3 separate regions of the Homo sapiens genome follow, and regions 1 and 3 are each linked to region 2. The links are contacts of gene promoters, found by promoter capture Hi-C in human tissues and cell types (Jung and others, 2019). All regions are on one chromosome and are shown on one strand. Each heading gives the region's core, a stretch centred on a gene start or on the middle of the fragment in contact. The rest is flanking DNA. Distances are from core to core; before and after follow the strand shown.

Region 1 (3,959 bases), core at 610-3,109, 350 kb after region 2:
CCTTGTTAAAACCAAACATCTTAAATGCATTTGAAGCAGCGTGTCTAAGCCACGTAAAATCAAACCCTTGATAGTTATTAGCTGGCCTTCTTCTATAAAGAAAGCTTTCTTTTTTCTTTGTGCTTATTTAATGGGGTACAATCAATTATAGACATAATTGGTGGCACAGGGAAAATAATTATTTCAAGTAGTTTTTAAACACTAGCTGTATAACTAAGAGGGACATATAAAAACAGGGATTGGCAAACTTTTTCTTTAAAGGGCCTGATAGTAAATACAGTCAATCTTCATTCACAGATTCTGAATTTGTGAATTCATCTACTTGCTAAAACTTTTTTATAAACCCAGAGTCAATATTTGCAGCACCTTTGTGGTCATTTGTGGACATCCGAAGAGCGGTGAACCTTTTTGAGTCCCTTAACAGGCATGTTCTCAGCCAAAGTCAAACAAAGTGACCCTCTATCTTCTTATTTCAGCTCTCATACTGTAAACAGGTACCCTTTTTGCAGTCCATTTAGTACCTTGGCTTCTCATATTTTTGTTTTTTGCTGGTGATTTTGCTGTTTCAAAGGGACCCCAAATGTAGTAGTACTAAAGTGCTGTTGATGTTCCTATGAATGAGAAAGCGGTCATGTGTCTTACAGAAAAAATACATGTGTTAGATAAGCTTCATTCAGGCATGAGTTATGGAGCTGTTGGCCATGAGTTCAATGTTAATGAATCAATAATATATATTAAAGTGTTTAAATAGAAACACAATAAGGCCAGGCGCGGTGGCTCATGCCTATAATCCCAGCACTTTTGGGAGGCCAAGGCGGGTGGATCACCTGAGGTCAGGAGTTTGAGACCAGCCTGGTCAACATGGTGAAACTCCGTTTCTACAAAATACAAAAATCAGCTGGGCATGGTGACATGCATCTGTATTCCCAGCTACTCTGGGGGCTGAGGCAGGAGAATTGCTGGAACCCGGGAGGCGGAGGAGGTTGCAGTGAGCCAAGATCCCACCACTGCACTCCAGCCTGGGTGACAGAGCAAGACCCTATCTCAAAAAAAAAAAAAAAAAAGAAAAAAAGAAAATAAACACAATAAAATAAGCTTATGCATTCATCGGTTGACTAAAATGTGACCAGATGCTTACAGGAAACTAACCCTGTATTTCCCCTAGAAGCAGTGGAATGGTATTCACTAATTCCGTGTTTGTAGCAAGTTTATAGACCATAACTACTGTGAATAGTGAGAACTGACTGTATTTTAGGCTGCGTGGGCCATCTGGTCTGTGTAACTACTCGAGTCTGTCCTTGTAGCTCAAATATAGCAATAGACAGTACACAATCAAACACGGCTATGTTCCAATAAAACTTTTATTTATGGACACTGAAATTTGACATGTATGATTTTCATATTTCACAAAATATTGTTCTCCTTTTCATTGTTTTTACCATTTAAAAATACAGAAATGGAAAATATAGGAACTGGCTTCCCCGAATCTCCGGAGTCACACGGTCTCAAATCCCAACAGCCACACCCAGTGAAAGAATCCCACCCAGGAGCGCGCCAGGGACAGACTCGCAGCGCCGTCCTCGCTCACAGGGCTCCCTAGTTGGCACTATAGAGAGGCGGTCGCGGGCGCCCCTCTTTAACGCGCCAGCCATCTGTCCCCGCTCCCCTCCAGGCCCTGCCGCGCCGTCCCCAGGCGCTAAGGGACTCGAAGCGCAGCCTCGCTGGGACGGACCTAGCTCCGGCTCCGGGTTCACGCAGAGCAGGGGCTGCACCAGCGAGCGGACCCTTGAGACTGGCCGCGCCTGCGCACTCCGTGAGCGCGCCCGGCCCTCCCAGCAGCCTCCGCGCGCAGCCCGTTAGGCCCCGGGGATTGTGGCGTGACCCGGCAGCGGCTTCCTCCGTTCGGGCATCGCTGTGCCTCGGGTTCGCGCCCCGAGTGAGCAGTCCTGGCCCGGAGCGTCGGTCCTGGTAATCTGTAGGAAAAGCGCTGCGGCCCAGGGGGTAAAGAGAGGTAAGCGGGGCCACTGCAGTATCGCAGAGGGGCGGGAGCCCGCGCCTCAGGCCCGGGTGTGTGTGTCGTGGGCGTGACGGGGCCGGGGCTGGGACGTGACGGAGTCTGTGCGGCTGACTTGGGTGCAGAGACTATTGTATGAGCGAAGGTTGTTGTGGCCGTGGAGTGCGTGACTGACCCCAGCATCCTCTGCCCACACCGGGCCCAGCTGCAGAGAAATGGCCCTCGGTCAGTTTCTGCACGCCAAAGACTCCCAGCAGAAACGCGCAGACTAGGCCGGACCAGGTGGCTCACATCTGTAATCCCAGAGCTCTGGGAGAGCGAGGCGGGAGGATCGCTGGAAGCCAGGAGTTCGAGACCAGCCTGGGCAGCAAAGCGAAACTCCCATCTGTACCAGAAATTTAAAAAATGAGCCGGGTGTGATGGCGTGCTCCTGTGGTCCCAGCCACTCGAGAGGCTGAGGCGGGAGGATGGCTTGAGCCTAGGAGGAGATTGAGGCTGCAGCGAGCTATGATAGCACCACTACTCTCCAGCCTGGGCAACAGCGAAACAAGGCTCAGACCCGACCTTGGGATAGGAATATTAGAACTGAACGAGCCCCCGCTCCCGCCCAGGCTTGCTCCTGGAAGGGACTCCCACACCACCTCCTCGCGGACCCGGACCCACGCACGTGCACTCACAACTCTGAAGAGTCCAGCTGCAGGTTTCAGAACCACAGCATTGCTTCCAGGAAGCTATTGTGAACTCCAGTTCTAGCCCCGGGCATCCATGACCCTGGCCTTTCTTTGATACTGGGAAGAGTTAACAACACCATCTCTCTTATGTTACTCTGGTTATGTGTGGGTGGGCGGTGGGGGCATTGTGCCCTATGCGAGGCTGGGCTGCAAGAAAAGCCTGGTTCCCTTATTAGCCAGTCCTGCCCAATTCTTTAAGAAAAGGGGTCCGAGCGGGAGGAGGAATGAATTGCTGTTGCCTGTTTAAGTCAAGGTCGAGGCGAGTGGGTGTTTCTGCTTTCTTCTGTGAAATGCATTCTTATTTCTTAGGACATGAGAATATTTGTTTCATTCTCCATAAATGTCCTGTCCATTGAGCTGATACCTAGGTCCCCTCCCGAGAGCCTGTATGCACATACCCATTTGGTAGATGTTTTTCATTACTTCTGTGGGCCTTCTTTTAATTACTATGTGTAAAGTTCTTAGAACAGTTCCTGAGACCTCGTTAGTACTTAATAAACCTTAGTTATGTATTCTTAAGTAGTGATTTGGAGCAATTCTACATCAGCCTTCTATAGATGGGGGGAAAATGAAAATACTAAGCCAATTGTGGTGAGTATTTCCTAGTAAAAAATAAATGAGCCAGATCAGATGCTTAAATAGTCTAAAACAGGAATTCTTTTTTTTTTTTTTTTTTTTTTTTTTTGAGACAGGGTCTTGCTCTGTCACCCAGGTTGGAGTGCAGTGGCACAATCTCAGCTCACTGCAACCTCCCTTTCCGTGGTTCAAGCGATTCTTATACCTCAGCCTCCCAAGTAGCTGGGATTACAGGCCTGCACCACCACACCCAGCTAATTTTTGTATTTTTAGTACAGACCGGGTTTTACCATGTTGGCCAGGCTGGTCTCAAACTCCTGGCCTCAAGTGATCTGCCTGCCTCGGCCTCCCAAAGTGCTGGAATGACAGGCATGAGCCACCGCCCCCAGCCTAGAACAGGAATTCTTTTTTTTTTTTTTTTTTTTGAGACGGAGTTTCGCTCTTATTTCCCAGGCTGGAGTGCAATGGTGTGATCCCAGCTCACCGCAACCTCCGCCTCCCAGGTTCAAGCGATTCTCCTGCCTCAGCCACCCTAGTAGCTGGGATTACAGGCATATACCACCACGCCTGCCTAATCTTGTATTTTTAGTAGAGACGGGGTTTCTCCATGTTGGTCAGGCTGGTCTTGAACTCCCGAC
Region 2 (3,793 bases), core at 1,109-3,608:
CGGGCGAGGTGGCTCACGCCTGTAATCCCAGCACTTTGGGAGGCCAAGGCGGGCGGATCACGAAGTCAGGAGATCGAGACCATCTTGGCTAATACGGTGAAACCCCGTCTCTACGAAAAATACAAAAAATTAGCCGGGCGTGGTGGCGGGCGCCTGTAGTCCCAGCTACTCAGGAGGCTGAGGCAGGAGAATGGCTTGAACCCGGGAGGCGGAGTTTGCAGTGAGCCGAGATCACGCCACTGCACTCCAGCCTGGGCGACAGAGCAAGACTCCGTCTCAAAAAAAAATAAATAAATAAAAATCTAGAACATGGATGTCCCCTTGCTTTAGCAGACCTAGCTGATCACACAAGGTCCTGTATTGTTAGGCTGCATCACAGGCCGCAAAGACCCAGGTATCTATCCAGTTGTTAGAAACCATCCTGAGAGTTAGATACCACTTTTCTGTTGGAAATACAGACCATTTCCTGAAGCCGTATGGTTGAGGTAAAACAGGCCTTTTGCAGTCTTATATTTTGAGTAAGGCCAAAACTGCCTAGTGTTACAAAACCAGACAAAAAGCCCAGGTACCCAGTCTTGCAGGATAGAAATGTGTGACTAAAATGAAGCATCGATCTGAGAAGACTACAAATGAGCGGGAAAGATTGGACAGGAGCATGCTATACATTATTTAGATTAATGTTGATATTTAAGGAGCCAGGATATTGGTTTGTTTTTGAGGGGTGCCCATCTACTTTATGTAAGAAGCTATAAACTACACTTCTTTCAGTTTCTGCTTAATCCTTGCTCAAACAAGGAATAATTTCTTATTCCAAAGTAGACATTGGTACATCTTTTACTAGGTACATAATTTGGGATGAAGTCTGATAAAGCTCCTTAGAAGTACTTACAGTACACCCTCACAAGGGTGTACCATCTACCCATGGTTTAAACAGAAATTAAAATTCTACCTTCGTGGAAAAATTTGCCAAGTTTTAATGGATTCAGTGCTCATTAAAAACTTTTAGCCTGTCTTGATCTTTAACATAATTATTGGTGTGAAACAATGGCTTCTGTGGAAAATTAAAGTTTTAGTGGTTTGCTATTTGTGAAATACAGGCTTTTTCATGTATCATATTAGCATATAAGCTGGCTTAATCATTAGTACTGATCTTCAAGTTACTAAGACACCAGATATTTGTTACTTTGTAATTTGAGTTTTTAAAAAAATTCCGAAATTGGCTTTTCGATGTGTGAAAAGGACTACTTATTAGATGCTTGTTTTTAAATTTACATTCAATTAATTAAAGCTAGACTCTTTATATTCTTAGGCTTGGTATACTATTTGTATGTTTTGTAGTAAGTGTATAAAAATAATACCTTTGACTTTGTATAAAAAAAATCTTTCTTGCTTTAAAAGCCATGTTGGATTTGCATTCTAGACCGTAATAAATATAACTACTTTAACATAAAAATCTATTTATGTTGTTTATCAGATATTAGGGGTTTTTTTCCCTCTCCTGTCAACCTCCAAATAAAATCGATGCTCCAGAATGATGCCCTCTTATCATAATTTTACAAATACCTGGCTCCAAGGTTACTACCTGATACAAAAATACAATGCTGGTCTCCCAAACAGGCAACTCACATTGACACTCACACAGCTTCCACTCACACCTGCGATCACAAGGCAGCATCTTCGGGCCCTCGTCGGCCACGATCCGCTCCCAGAGAGCATTCGCGCACAATCTTATCCCATCCACGATTTTGATTCCTTTTCTCCCACTTCTTCAACCCTATCCGGGACGAGACCATCAGGTCCCACCTCCACCTTCACCTTCATTTTCCGCGCAATGCAGACTGAGCCCTGGACTCACCCATATACAGATTGAATTGTCCGGTCAGTGTTTCATCCCCTCTGCATTCTGAGGGCGAGTTAGCATCTGGGTGCATGAGTTCCAAACTAACAGCCAGGACCAGGCTTGGAGCCAAGAATCCTTTGGCTCGCATCGTGGCTGGGTTGACCGCTTTTCTGCCCTGGACTACATTTCCCATCGGTTCTACCGTTCGGGGCTACTTCCGCCGAGAACCGGAAGCACGTTTTCCTGTGTCTTACCCCAGATAACAGAGCTGCCAGGGATAATCAGGCCTGACCACTCTAGCGGGCGAGCCGGCCCCATAGCGAGCCGCTCGGCATGAGGGCTCTGCGATCCTCGTTGGAGAGGAGCGGTAAAAGGAAACAAGCCAGGCTTGGAAATGAGAGGCATAGGGAAGCCCGCAGTCGGGCTCTGGACTACATTTCCCAGAGGATCCCGCAGGCCGACGCCACGTCTCGCGAGATTTTGGCTTCCTCTTAGCCAGGTGGCGGGACCGTTTGCTGTGCCGATTTAGCTGCCGCCGCGCCTTGGAGTCCTGAGGAACTTGGCTAGGCTGGCCCCGAGCGGAACCAGAGAATGCTGAGGGTGAGGAATCCGGCTCCGGTCCTTTTGTGTGTGGAGGGCTGAGGAGAGGAGTTTGCGTGTGTGATCGCGATGGCTGCCGTGGGTCTCCGTGGTCTGTGACTGTGGCTGTGTGGTGCTGACTCTGGGTGATCAGGTGGGCGCTTGTGACTGTGCGCGCCCGGAGTGGGTGTGTGTGTCCTGGACGACCCTCGTTGTGCGTGCGGATGTGAAGAACCGGTGACTGTGTGGTTGGACTGCGTGTCCCGGGGTGGGTGTGTGACTTTGCGTGTCTGTGCAGTACCTTGTGTGCGTGAGTTGCAGGTCTGTGGCTGTGCAAGTGCAACTTGTGTGGCCCCTTGGTGTATGTGAGAGAGGAGAGTGTGATTGGCTGTGAGGCAGTGGGTAAGTGGATATGCGGAGGCATGTGTGCGATTGGGACTTTGTGTGTCCCCTTGAGAGAAAAAACTCTTTAGGCAGTTAGGGTGGGACCTTGGTAAAAGTCCTTTAAACAGAGAAACAGCCTGAAAAATCAGGCTGCAGGCATACATAAGGAAAACTCCACAGGGGGGTTGTCCTGAAGACATTCCTCAGCTGCACTGATAAGGGACCGAGGCCCAACATAGAAACGCCTTTGTCCTTTGTGTGACCAGCGGGCTTCCACGAAATAGTCGCTTCTTTTGTGGGCATGTACACGGTGGGCTCTGTTAGATTTTGAAGGGAAGGCGAGGGTTAAAGAAAGAGAGAGAGTTGGCGGCTCTATGGCGGGGACCAACTAAATGCCAGAGCCCACTGCCGCTTCCAGGCTGGGGTAATTACAGGCCTGGGCAGGAGGGGTCTGGGCGGTATGGCTTGTTGCCTGGGAGAAAGTTGATAAGGATGTTTCTTGGGCTTTTGCCCAGCAGGATGTGATAAGGAAGTCAGGCGGTTGGGAAGGATGTTTCGCACAGCCCAAACCCGGGTGGAATGTTTCCCTCTGACCAGGGTCTGTGAAATGGTGGGGGCTTACGAAACGGTGCAGCTTGGACTAACAGGTTCCGGCGGCCACTTTCCTTTTTTGGACATGCTTTAGACTGTGAGCGCGGCCTCTTTGAATCATAACTTCACCCCCTCATTGGTCCCGGGCCAAGCTTTCACTTCAGCCCCTGATTGGTCCCGGGCCAAACTTTCACTTCAGCTCCTGATTGGTCCCGGCCCAAACTTTCACTTCAGCTCCTGATTGGTCCCGGGCCAAACTTTCACTTCAGCCCCTAATTGGTCCCGGGCCAAACTTTCACTTCAGCTCCTGATTGGTCCCGGGCCAAACTTTCACTTCAGCCCCTGATTGGTCCCGGGCCAAACTTTCACTTCAGCCCCTGATTGGTCCTGGGCCAAACT
Region 3 (3,978 bases), core at 635-3,134, 270 kb after region 2:
GTGTCCAGCTGATAAAAGTGAGTGAAACCCAAGCACATGAAAGAGAGCCTCCCTCTGTGACTCAACTTTCCACTGAGAACCAAAGCGACCCAGTTTAAGGGAGAGCACTTTGTTTCTCTCAAGGCCTGGGGTTAACTTGAGGAGAGGTTTGGAGGTGCTGAGAAGGAAACACACTTGGAAAAGCTGATTCAATCATTCCACAATGTACACGTGTCATTGTGTACACATCACGATGTATACAATGTACACATCAAATTGTACCCCATAAATACATGCAATTATTACTTCTTAATTAAAAATAAAATGAAAATATAAAAAATATATAGTAGATCCTGGAAATGTAATATGAAGAATAATTAATAATAAATGTTTGGGGCCGGGCGCGGTGGCTCACGCCTGTAATCCCAGCACTTTGGGAAGCTGAGGCGGGCAGATAACCAGGTCAGGAGTTCGAGACTAGCGTGACCAACATGGTGAAACCCCGTCTCTACTAAAAATACAAAAATTAACCAGGCATGGTGGCACATGCCTGTAATCCAGTTAGTCAGGAGGCTGAGGCAGGAGAATCGCTTGAACCCAGGAGGCAGAGGTTTGCAGTGAGCCGAGAGTCCGTCTCAAAAAAATAAAAAATAGCCGGGCACAGTGGCTCACGCCTGTAATCCCAGCACTTTAGGAGGCCGAGGCAGGCAGATCACAAGGTCAGGAGTTCGAGATCAGCCTGGCCAATATGGTGAAAGCCTGTCTCTACTAAAAGTACAAAAATTAGCTGGGCATGGTGGCGGGCACCTGTAGTCCCAGCTACTCTGGAGGCTGAGGCAGGAGAATTACTGGAACCCGGGAGGCAGAGGATGCAGTAAGCTGAGATCGTGCCAGTGCACTCCAGCCTGGGCAACAGAGTGAGACTCTGTCTCAAAAAAGAAAAAAAAAAAGAAAAAAGAAATTAAAAAAATAAATGTTTAGACCAGGGTTGGTGGCTCATACCTGTAATCTTAGCACTTTGGGAGGCCAAGGAGGGTGGATCACCTGAGGTCAGGAGTTCAAGACCAGCCTGGCCAACATGGTGAAACCCCGTCTCTACCAAAAATACAAAAATTAGCTGGGCGTGGTGGCAGGTGCCTGTAATCCCAGCTACTTGGGAGGCTGAGGCAGGACAATTGCTTGAACCCAGGAGGCGGAGGTTGCAGTGAGCCGAAATTGCGCCACTGCACTCCAGCCTGGGCGACAACTGCAAGACTCTGTCTGAAAAAAAAAAAGATAATAATAATAATCCAAATTCAGTGTGTCATTTTAAGGTGGCTTGGGAGCGGCCCGAGGAGCGAAGGACTGAACCAGGAGCCATGCTGCACTGAACTGAGGCAGCACAGCCTCCAGGTGGGGTGGGAGGGGCGGGAGCCTTTCCGCTGTGGATGCTGACTGCCCAGGACGAGGGTTTCATCACCTTAAATGTTTTTGAACTGACGAAGCTGCATTCCCTTAAAAAGATGGACAGCTAGTGGCTCACACCTGTAATCCCAGCGCTTTGGGAGGCCAAGGCAGGTGGATCACGAGTTCAGAAGATCGAGACCATCCTGTCCAACATGGTGAAACCCCGTCTCTACTAAAATACAAAAAATAGCCAGGTGTGGTGGTGTGCACCTGTAATCCCAGCTACTCAGGAGGCTGAGGCAGGACAATCGTTTGAACCCGGGAGGTGGAGATTGCAGTGAGCTGAGATCGCGCCACTGCACTCCAGCCTGGCGACAAAAAGAAAGAAAGAAAGAAAGAAAAGATGGACAGCCCATCCTGTGAACTATAGAGTTTGTGGACAGATATGTATTGGGTTCATAGTGGCGTCATGCACACACACTCCTGCGAGTTTCCGTAAGTTTTTAGAGGACTGCTTTGCCTTTTGTTTTGTTGTTGTTGTTTGTTTTGGTTTGGTTTTTGGAGACAGAGTCTCACTCTGCCACTCAGGCTGGAGTGCAGTGGCATGATCTCAGCTCACAGCAACCTCTGACTCCCGGGTTCAAGTGATTCTCCTGCCTCAGCCTCCCGAGTAGCTGGGATTACAGGAGCGCGCCACCATGCCCAGCTAATTTTTATATTTTTAGTAAAGATGGTGTTTCCCCATGTTGGCCAGGCTGGTCTCAAACTCCTGACCTCAAGTGATCTGCCTGCCTCAGCCTCCCAAGTGCTGGGATTACAGGCATGAGGCACCATGCCAGGCCTGCTTTGCCTTTTGATCTGAGAGTTGCAAAGTTCCATAAAGAATGGCCCTGGTGGATAAGCACAAAATCACGAGACAGCGATTGGACAGAACTTGTGAAGCTATCCACCCTCAGATCACGAACAGCCCCCTGCACCCCCTCCCGCTGCTGGCGCCGCTGGATGGCTGTGACCTGCACCGTGGAGATGCCCATCCTGAAGGACCTGGCCACTGTGGCCTTCTGTGACGCACAGTCCACGCAGGAGATCCACGAGAAGATTCTAAACAAGGGAGGACCTGGAGAAGTTCAAGGCCCTGAGAGTGATCGTGTGGATAGGCAAGTGGCTACGACAACGTGGACATCAAGGCTGCCAGTGAGCTCCGGATTACTATGTGCAACATCCCCTCCACAGCCGTGGAAGAGGCAGCCAACTCCACTATCTGCCACATCCTCAATCTCTGCCGGAGGAATATGTGGCTGTACCAGACACTGTGGGAAGGCGCGCGGGTTCAGAGCGTGGAGCAGATTCTCGAGGTGGCCATGGGAGTGGCCCTCATTCGTGGAAGACGCTAGGCCTCATGGGCTTCGGTTGCATGAGGCAGGCGGTTGCAGTTTGAGCCAAGGCCTTTGGATTCAGCGTCGTATTTTATGACCCCTACTTGTAGGACAAGATAGAGAGGTCCCAGGGCATGCAGAGGGGACCCTGATACACCCTGCAGGGTTTGCTGTATCAGAGTGACTGTGTCTCGTTGCACTGCAATCTCAATGAACATAACCACCACCTCGTCAATGACTTTACTATAAAGCAGATGAGACAGGGAGCATTCCTTGTGAACGCAGCCCATGGTGGCCTGGTGGATGAGAAAGCCTTAGCACAGGTCCTCAAGGAGGACAGGATAGGAGGGGCAGCCCTTGGCTTGCACGAATCGGAGCCCTTTAGCTTTGCTCAGACTCCGTTGAAAGATGCGCCAAATCTCATCTTCACTCCTCACACTGCCTAGGACAGCATGCAGGCGTCACTGGAGATGAAGGAGGCAGCTGCCACCGAGATCCGCCGAGTCATCACAGGTCGCGTCCCAGAAAGCTTAAGAAACTGTGTGAACAAGGAGTTATTTGTCACATCAGCGCCTTGGTCAGCAATAGACCAGCAAGCAATTCATCCCGAGCTCAACGGTGCAACATACAGATATCCGCCAGGCATCGTGGGCGTGGCTCCAGGAGGACTTCCTGCAGCCATGGAAGGAATCATCCCTGGAGGCGTCCCAATGACTTACAACCTCCTGAGAGTGACACATCCTTCCCAAGCTCCCCTTCCCAACCAGCCCACAAAACATGGGGACAATCGACAGCACCCTAATAAGCAATAGCAGAGAATGCCCAAAGGTAATCATTCAGATACACTTGGGACCATGAGCCAGTGAAAAATAGATGAACTAAGAGAAACAAATTATGGTCTTTTTAACTGATTCTGGACATAGGCATCATTGATGTTGCCGTGCTAAAACTACAAGAACTAGACAACTGAAGATGTCGTCTCTTATGGAAGTGCTGAAAGACTAGGATGTGATTTACTAACAACCGACTTCCGTTATTGTGTGTTAAGTTTTTCATCTGTGCATCAAATCCCAAATAATAAATGGAGCTTTTTTCTTTATCGGTCCCTTGGGCACAGGAGGTCCCGAACACCCTTCTCTAGGATGCTGCATTGAGAGTTCAAACATCGGGCCATGCGCAGTGGCTCATGCCTGTAATCCCAGCACTTGGGAGCCCGAGGCGGGTGGATCACCTGAGG

What was found. Contacts are between HindIII fragments. The study calls those that stand out against the background at their distance.
Region 1: a contact is called between the fragment with the promoter of ZFP82 here and the fragment with the promoter of ZNF850 in region 2, in 1 of the 25 tissues and cell types used here (mesenchymal stem cells).
Region 3: a contact is called between a fragment that was not itself captured here and the fragment with the promoter of ZNF850 in region 2, in 2 of the 25 tissues and cell types used here (heart right ventricle and mesenchymal stem cells).

The regions. Positions count from the first base shown.
Region 1 is chr19:36,416,544-36,420,502 of GRCh38, reverse strand. It overlaps ZFP82 (ZFP82 zinc finger protein), which reads left to right and starts at 1,859. Exons shown (of 5, transcript NM_133466.4): 1 at 1,859-2,011. RefSeq lists an enhancer at 2,331-2,490. The HindIII fragment of the contact is 5,247 bases long and covers 882-3,959 here.
Region 2 is chr19:36,771,372-36,775,164 of GRCh38, reverse strand. ZNF850 (zinc finger protein 850) reads left to right here and starts at 2,358. Exons shown (of 5, transcript NM_001193552.2): 1 at 2,358-2,440. It overlaps LOC728485 (a long non-coding RNA gene), which reads right to left and starts at 2,012. Exons shown (of 2, transcript NR_164117.1): 1 at 1,656-2,012. RefSeq lists enhancers at 2,098-2,257, 2,398-2,537 and a silencer at 2,524-2,818. The HindIII fragment of the contact is 7,262 bases long and covers 1-3,793 here.
Region 3 is chr19:36,496,488-36,500,465 of GRCh38, reverse strand. It overlaps the pseudogene CTBP2P7. Among named protein-coding and RNA genes, the nearest start is that of ZNF566-AS1, 8.8 kb to the right of the region's middle. The HindIII fragment of the contact is 8,707 bases long and covers 1-3,978 here.